Linked DNA regions of Homo sapiens: region 2 is linked to region 1. The links are contacts of gene promoters, found by promoter capture Hi-C in blood cells and fetal thymus (Javierre and others, 2016). All regions are on one chromosome and are shown on one strand. Each heading gives the region's core, a stretch centred on a gene start or on the middle of the fragment in contact. The rest is flanking DNA. Distances are from core to core; before and after follow the strand shown.

Region 1 (4,099 bases), core at 639-3,138:
ACAGGGCTCTTCAGTAGGTAGGCCAGGATCACAGGGAGACAGAGCTGCACAGGGAACAAACTCATTGAGCATGGGCTCTATGCCAAGCACTGTGCTGGGGCCTGGGTACCAGGATGAATGGGTGCCAAGAAAACTGCGAAGAAACTGGGCCCAGAGAGGGTAAGTGGTCCTGAGGATGGCCAATGTGTTATATACATTAAGTACTATGTGCCAGGCACTATTCTAGGCACTGGGGCACAGCAGTGATCTAAACAGATAAAAACCCCTGTCCTTATGGAATTAATGCTTAAGAGTGGGGGTGGAACAAATAAATATACAAAATATAGAGAATGCCAGATGGTGATACATACAAAAGAAAAAAATAAGGCAGGGGAAGGTAATAGAGCATTCTAGAGAGGATATCTTAAATGATGCTCAGAGATGACCTCAGAAAATGACATTTGCATTTTTTTTATTTTTTAGTTTTTGAGATAGGGTCTCACTCTGTCACCCAGGCTGGAGTACAGTTGCACGACCACAGCTCACTGCAGCCTTGACCTCTCCGGCTCAAGCCATCCTCCCACCTCAGTCTCCCTAGAAGCTGGGACAGGTGTGCCCCACCAAACCTGGTTAATTTTTATTTTTTTAAATTTTTTTGTAGAGACAGGGTCTTGCCGTGTTGCTGGGGCTGGTCTAGAATTCCTGGGCTCAACTGATCCTCCTGACTCAGCCTCCCAAAGTGCCGGGATTCCAGGCGTGAGCCACGTGTCCGGCCCCTAGAAAATGACAGAGAGTGGTGGGGATGTCTGGGAGAACAGCATTGCAGACAGGGCCCTGAGGCAAGGCCCTGAGTTAGGAGCAAGGAGCACAGCCTGGCAGACTGGGGGGCAGGTGAGGAAAGGGCAGGAGGAGTTGGGGTCAGAGAGGGAGTTGGGGCCATTCTAGGGGTGGCCTTGTAGGCATTGTAAGGATCTGGGTTTTCACTGGTGGTGAGGTGGGGACGCCATGGACAGCATGAGAAATGGTCTGGTCCGGCGTGGAGAATGCACTCCACCGGGAGGGCGTCAGGGGGAGCCTGGCTAGGAAGCTGGTGGGAGGCTGGGAATCCAGGTCCCGGACTCAGCTCTTCTTTTGCATTGACTTGGCCCTTGGCCCGCCCCAAACTTGAGGTTTGAACTGTTGAGGTCAGAACCTACCATGAACTCCAGCCTGGAGGAAAGATTTCTAGGAAGGCCTTGAAGTTCAGTTATAACCTGAGTGATGGTCTCATTAGCATTATAAAAGTTCCAGGATGGGGTTCTGCAGCACTGGGCCCGGGCAGTGGTCCAGATGCTGACGAGTGGTGTAGCGTCGGGCAAGTCTTCTCACCTACTGAGCAGACTCAGTTACTTCATCTGTAAAATGGGACTAAACGTCCCGGTTGCCTCAGCATCAAATGAGATCGTTCGAAAGCACCTTTTAAACATCATTACCGATTACAAAAAGCAAATGGGAAGTCGGAGCCGACCTCAGAGGGCTGACTTGGCACAGCACTTCAAATTTCTCGTTTTACAAAGCACGAGGCGCGAGTTTGTCTCGCTGTCAGGACCTGCTTCCCTCTCACCTAGCACCCGCCCCGGGCCCGAGAGCCGCGGTGCGGCCGTGCGTACAGGAGGGAGGGAGGCGGTGTGGGGTCCCGGGCAGAGCTGCTGAGAGCCCCGGCCCCGCATCTGACTCGCGCTCTCTCGGCGGGACTCCGGGCCAGGGCCCCCAGGCCGGCGCGCAGGGCGGGGAGCGGCTGCGGGCGGGAGGACGGGCGGGGCGGCGGGCGGCTACGCGGCCTGGGCGGAGCCGCCCCCGCCCTGGCCCTCGCGGTTGCCCTGCCCCCGCCAGCCCCAGGCTCCCCGGGCCCGCGCCGCGCCGCTCTTTCTCCGACAGCCGCCGGGGGTGCCCTGCAAGCTGTTCCGCGCGTCCTGCCCGTCTGTCCCCGCGGGTCGTCGCCCGCCACAGCCGCGCCATGACCACCCAGCAGATAGACCTCCAGGGCCCGGGGCCGTGGGGCTTCCGCCTCGTGGGCGGCAAGGACTTCGAGCAGCCTCTCGCCATTTCCCGGGTAAGAGCAGCTGGGACGTGCGTGGAAGCGGGGCGCTATGGGAGGTGATATGCGGAGACTGGGGCCCCGCGGGCGCGGTCGGGGACGGAGTCGGAACCGCAGCCGGGCGCGTCCAGGTGCGCTGTTAGTTGAGCGCTCTCCGCGCGCCCGGGCCCCGCCGCTCCCCGCCGCCCCTTCGCGGAGGCTGCGCTCCCGGGCTGGTCGGCCCGCCGCGGGCGCGCTCCGTGTCCGCCAGAAAAAAAGAAGGCAGTTTTCGTTCTTTGGCCCCGGAAGCGCGGCGGGGCGGGTGTTAGTTCTTTGTCAACCAGCGAGGGGACGAGGGTCCCCGCAGATCCCGCGCGCTGGGAGATGGCACTTCTCCCTTCTTCCCAGATCGCAGTGCAGCCGAACGCAACAGGAAAGACCTGGAAAGTGAGGTGGGGTGGGTGGGAAGTTTACTGGGGTGGGGGGCAAGTGGGATTAACCTAAAAAAACAACCGAAACACGCTCTTTGGACTTGACCCACGGCCGAGGCTCGCCCCTCGAATGGCTTTTGGAGAATGTGCTGGATTCGGGAAATAAACACAACAAACAAACTCAAGTAAACCCTCTTGGTCATTCTCCCCTCTGCAGAACGTGGCCCCGCCGTCATTCTTCCTAGCATTCCCAGATTATCTCTTTCCCCTCCCCGCACCAGCCCTTTTTTCTCAGGGCATGAGTAGATACTGCGATGGGGTGTCCACCTGGGGTGGGGTTGAGGTGCTTGAAATCTAAGAGGGGCTTCGGATCTTTAGAAGGACTCACGTTGAATCAGGGGCCACCAGAACCATTGCCCCCCTAATAAAGTGAAACCCCCAGGGAGACCCAGACTCAGTGTTCAGAGGTCTGGGCTTTGGCCATTTAATCTGGCCAAACACAGGTTGATGTCCCACTAAGAGATGTCACGTTCAGTGCTTGGGCACCAAGAAGAGACTCAGTAAGTACCTCGAATGAGGAAAGGGAGAAAAAGAAGTCCCCTTTCTCCCCACCCATGGCCACTCCTTGCCTGTAGGCGGCACATTCCATTCTTGGGCTCATCTGCCTGCTGAAGCTGCCCTTCAGCTTGTCTCCCAGACTTTCTAAACATCCTTCTTTTTCACTTGGGGTTGGGGGAAGGGTGGAGAAGAAAGGGAAATATCCTTATGGATCCTTTTGACTCAAGCTCCTGCGTCCAGCAGCTGAAGGAGTTTGGTGGGAGGTGCAGGAGAAGAATTGGTGGCCTCCTCTTGACTTGTCTGCCAGCCACAGTCCTACCCATGCTTCTTTCCCGGTTGGCCTGGCCCAGTGAGGAGGTCTTCTCTATCTCACCCCCCTAAAAGAGTAGGCGGGCCAGTTTTTGGGCCTTATCTTCCACCTGTTTGCCTCGTCCCACAGAGACCTCTGATTATTCTCAAAGGTACACACTGCCTTTCCAGCCACCAGCCTAATTCCTCAAGCGCAGGAACTGTGCCTTCCCCAGAATCGTCCCCGAGCCTGGTAGCAGACCTGTACCTGGCCGGGCTGGGTAAATCCTTGCAGGCTTATTAATAAATGCTTGTCCAGGGAGGACATTGTGTCTGCACATTTCAACTCGCTTACCTCATAGTCCATTTGTCCCTGTTCTTTGTGTCTATAATTAACCTGTCAGCCCTCTCCACTTCTGAGATTTATATATGACATGAAACCCTTTTTTAAGTAGTGGAGGATGTATTGGCAATCTGTTAAAAGGGCAGTTACTGCCTTTCACTTTAGCTGCTTTTAAAAGTCTTAATGCATGAGTGAATGATGGAATGGGGTGGAAAACACCACACTGTGAATTCATTGGTTTTTACCTTCATATATTCACTCATTTATTATTTATATTATTTATTTATGGCGTGTGCACGTGTTTAATGAGCACGTATCATATTCCAGAAACTGTGCAAACGCCTCAGAAATGAGAGGGCACAGCTCCATTCTCAAGGTGTTCATGGTCTAGTGATGGAAACTAATCTTTATAATGCCCTTGGCAGGTGCTTTAATTGAAAAGTG
Region 2 (4,510 bases), core at 1,423-3,922, 550 kb before region 1:
TGTTAGAAATATTCAGACCTTATGCAGAACAGGGCCCAAGAAGCAGTATTGTTTAGAAGCTTCTTAGGTGATTCTAATGTGCAGCCAAGATTCAGAACCACATGCTGAAGTAGCTGAGACACTATGGAAGGAATAGAAAGCCATTAATCTATAGTCCCCAAACTTGTCTACACATTGGAATCATACGGGAATCACCTGGAAAGCTTCAATGGCTACTGATGCTTGTGTCCTAGACCCAGGTATTGTGATCTAATTGATGTGGTATTGTGTCCTGGGCTTTGGAATTTTTATAAGGTCCCACATGATTCTAATGTGCAGATAAGTTTGGGAACCACTGAGTTACTCCATTGAATGCCAGTAAGACGTAATAAATATGTTCATCTAATTTTAGTTCAATAAATGCAGAGTTTGTTTTAAGGAGAGGTGTAAAAACACTAAATACACTCACTTTTAAATTATGAATATAACTGTAAAATTGTATTTAATATATTTTACAATATATGTACTTAAACTTCATGTTTTTAGCTTTACGAGTAGGGGGAGATGAAAAGAAGAAAAAAAGGAGGAAAGAAAGTCAGCAGAGGAGAAGAAGGACAGATGACAGCAGGAGAAAGAACTAGAAACAGAAACTATACACAGAAACATAGAAGCAAGGGCTGGGCAATAATTTTCAAATTGGTGCCCCCTTTTAAGGACATTAAATGAGGGGTAGCTACAGTAAAGTGTGCAAATACTAGGCATACACCTCAATAAATTTTTGCATATGTGCACATCCATATAACCACCACCCAGATCAAGATACAGAACACATTCTAGCCCTCATAAGGCTTCCCAGTGCCCCTCTCAGTCAGTTACCACTGTCTTAACTTCTACCACCATGTATGAGTTCTGCCTGTTTTTGAACTGCAATGTATGAACTCACATAGTATGCCTCCTTTATGTCTAACTTCTTTCACTTTACACTATGTAAGATGAACTCAAACTGTGTGTATCAGTAGTTCATCTTTTTCCATCACTGCAAAGTATTTCATTATATGGATATACTATATTTTTATCCATTCAACTGTTGATGGACATTCGGGTTATTTCCAGTTTGGGGCTACTGGAAATATAGCTGCCAGAAACATTCATATGCATTTCATTTTGTTGAAATAAGCTCTCATTTCTTTGGGGGTATCTATCCAGGAGTAAACTGCTCAATGCCCATTTTGATCAACTGATAGTCATCTTTGGTTATATCTCTGGGCTTACTCAGGATTAAAAAATTCCATGATTGATTAATGACATCTGATATGAACTTGGGAGAAGAGCATGATGGCACATGTGCTTTTAAATCTTCCTTAGAGAAGAAACATAGAGGGAAGTAAATGGGGAAGCGAAAGGAAGAGAAGAAGGAGACGCTTGTCACGTGGCTGCTTATTTAAGCTGCAGACCTCAAAGTATGGTCTGCCACTTTAAAAATGCTTAATTTAGCTGTGTGTGTGGGTGTGTGTGGGTGTGTGGTGTGTGTGTGTGTGTGTGTGTGTGTGAATCTCCCTACATATATAAGCTAGGTTGCATGAACAGAAGCAGTGGTCTGGAAAGAGGAACAGTAGAAATGACCTTGTTTGGTTCATGGAGACACCAATGTAGGGGCCCCAGTGAAGACCTGAAAATGTAGGTGGCAATGGGTATATATATCATCTGCTATGAATCTAAGAGACTCCAGGGAGAAAAGAAGACAAGAAATAGGATTTAAGAGACCTCCCTGGACCACTAGGAAAAGCTAAAAGTAGAGCCTATTGAGTGTCAAACTCTACTCCATTTCACTAGACCAGGGAGTACCACCGTGCAGACCTTGCAAGGACCCTTGACCTGCCATAACCTCCACAGTGTTCTCTTCCTAGTTACACACAGTGGGGATTCCCTCCAGTAATTAGCATTATGCCTTTAGAAAGAAAAGGGCCTGTATGCTGGCTTTGGGCACAGCAAGGAAGCAAGCTGGACAGACTCCTCTGCAGCTAGGCTTGCAGTGAAAGGAATCCAAGAAATGGCTTAGGTGGTGGCCATTGTGGGCAGAGAGGAACACTGACTAAGGTCTGGGGCCACTGGACCCTTGAGAAACCTCCCAGAGTGGAGAAAGAGGCTCAGGAATTACACATGGCAGAAAATTCTGTTGTTTCCTAACAGAGCCCCTGATTTCTTCCTGCCAGAAAATGTTCCAACCACAGCAGCATACGACAGAAACTGGTGAGGTAGAAGCAGCAAGCAGCATTTATCTGGGATCAGATTTTATTCTAACATTGTTGATACGAAAGTCATTCTTCCCATAGAGCCAAAGAACCAGGCTTGCTTCTGTCAGCTTGTTTTCTCTAAGGCCTTACTTACACAGTGAGGTAGTTGAGAAACAAAAACTTTTACTACGTTTCATTTGACAAGTGTTTGAGAAGGGGGTAAAGCATATTTTAACACAAATTGAAGACATTTCATCTTGTGTACACAGTACACTAGCATGCTAACCTGTGCAACTGTGCCAAACATTTTGTCTTCTAAAATGGCTTGCAGAATAAAAAACTGGCATTGTTTGCTGCTTGAGAGACAGATAAAGCTTGACTGAAAGTTCAATTTGAGCATTTGGGGAGCTTGCCTTTCTTTGTTACAACATCCATCAGAGCCCAGGTAGCCACAACGTTTTGTTCTCTTTCCACCACACCAGCATTTTCCAATGCATGTTCCAGAGAGTACGAGGCCTACAGGGGCTTCAGTAAATAAAGCTTCCCAGAAGTCTGGAGAATGTTCATGTTCTCTCTGCCTCCTGGGCTCAAAAGTCCATTAGCTAGTGAATGCCTCAAAGTCTGGCAGTGGAGAAACCCAACATTTCTCTGTAGCTTATATTTAAATATTTCCAAAAGTCCCTATGAGTATATCCTTTAAAGAAAGCAGTAAGATTTAGGTGGTAAGGAAGAGATCTGACACTCCCTCGGGATCATTTCAATATTATTTTCTATTTTAAGAGTACTAAAAGTTTCTTAAATATCACTTATAAAATGAAGTAAAAAAAGATGTTTAAGATTCTACTAATTAGATATCACTTTTATTTTTATTTATTTCCTTCCAAGTCTTTTTTGAATGCGTCGTATTGCCCAAAGAAATCAAAGAATTAGAAAAAAATCTACTCTAAAATTCATACAGACCAAAAAAGAGCCCAAATAGCCAAGGCAATCCTAAGCAAAAAGGATAAAGCCAGAGGCATCACATAACCTAACTTTAAACCACAAAGCTATGATAACTAAAACAGCATGGTACTGGTACAGAAATAGATACATAGATCAATGGAACAGAATAGAGACCCTGAAATAAAGCCATACACTTACAGCCAACTGATCTTTGACAAAGCTGACAAAAATAAACAATGGGAAAAGGACTTCCTATTTAATAAATGGTGGTTGGAAAACTGGCTAACCATATGTAGAAGTATGAAACTACACCCCTACCTCTCACAATATACAAAAATTAACTCAAGGTAGAATAAACACATAACTGTAAGACCCTCAAACTATAAAAGTCATAAAAGAAACCTAGGAAATACCCTTCCAGACATTGGCCTCAGGAAAGAATTTATGACTAAGTCCTCAAAAGCAAATGCAGTTAAAACAAAAAGTGACAATTGGGACCTAATTAAACTAAAGAGCTTCTGCACAGCAAAAAAAACCAGTGACAGAGTAAACACACAAAAAGTGGGTCAAAGACATAAATAGACACTTCTCAAGAGAAGACATACAAGTGGCCAATACACTTTTGAAAAAATGCTCATCATCACTGGTCATCAGAGAGATGAATGTTAAAACCACAATGAGATACCATCTTATACCAGTCAGAATGGCTATTAAGAAGTCAGAAAATAACAGATGCTGGCAAGATTGTGCATACAAGAGAATGCTTACACACTGTTGGTGGGAATGCAAATTTATTCAGCCCTGTGAAAAGAAGGTTAGAGATTTCTCAAAGAACTAAAAATAGAATTGCCATTTGACCCAGCAATCCCATTACTAGGTATATACCCAAAGGAAAACAAATTATTCCACCAAAAAGACACCTGCACTTGTATATTTATCACAGCACTATTCATAATAGCAAAGACATAGAATCAACCCAGGTGTCCATCAATGATGAATTGTATAAAGAAAATGTGGTACATATGCACCATGGAATACTATGCAGCCATAAAAAAGAATGAAATCATGTCCTTTGCAGCAACATGAATGCAGCTGGAGGCCACTACCCTAAGCGAATTAACACAGGAACAGAAAACCAAATACTGCATATTCTTATAAGTGGAAGCTAAACGTTGGGTACACATGAACACAAAGACGGGAACAATAAACACTAGGGATTCCAAAAGAGGGGAGGTGGGGAGGAGGTCAAAGGTTGAAAAACTACCTGTCAGGTTCTATGTTCACTACTTGGGTGACAGGATCATTAGAAGCCCAAACCTCAGCATCATGCAATATACCCATGAAACAAATATGCA

Evidence for each region. Contacts are between HindIII fragments. The CHiCAGO score rates a contact against its expected background, and 5 or more counts as called.
Region 2: a contact is called between a fragment that was not itself captured here and the fragment with the promoter of PDLIM1 in region 1, in 1 of 17 cell types (total B cells). The highest score is 5.4, in total B cells.

The regions. Positions count from the first base shown.
Region 1 is chr10:95,288,792-95,292,890 of GRCh38, reverse strand. PDLIM1 (PDZ and LIM domain 1) reads left to right here and starts at 1,888. Exons shown (of 7, transcript NM_020992.4): 1 at 1,888-2,071. The coding sequence starts at 1,976. RefSeq lists silencers at 1,531-1,610, 1,661-2,050, 2,101-2,200, 2,221-2,330 and an enhancer at 3,052-3,371. The HindIII fragment of the contact is 5,873 bases long and covers 1-4,099 here.
Region 2 is chr10:95,834,976-95,839,485 of GRCh38, reverse strand. The region is part of intron 2 of ENTPD1 (ectonucleoside triphosphate diphosphohydrolase 1); the gene reads right to left. All of the region lies in intron 4 of ENTPD1-AS1 (ENTPD1 antisense RNA 1), which reads left to right. Among named protein-coding and RNA genes, the nearest start is that of CC2D2B, 71 kb to the left of the region's middle. The HindIII fragment of the contact is 166 bases long and covers 2,590-2,755 here.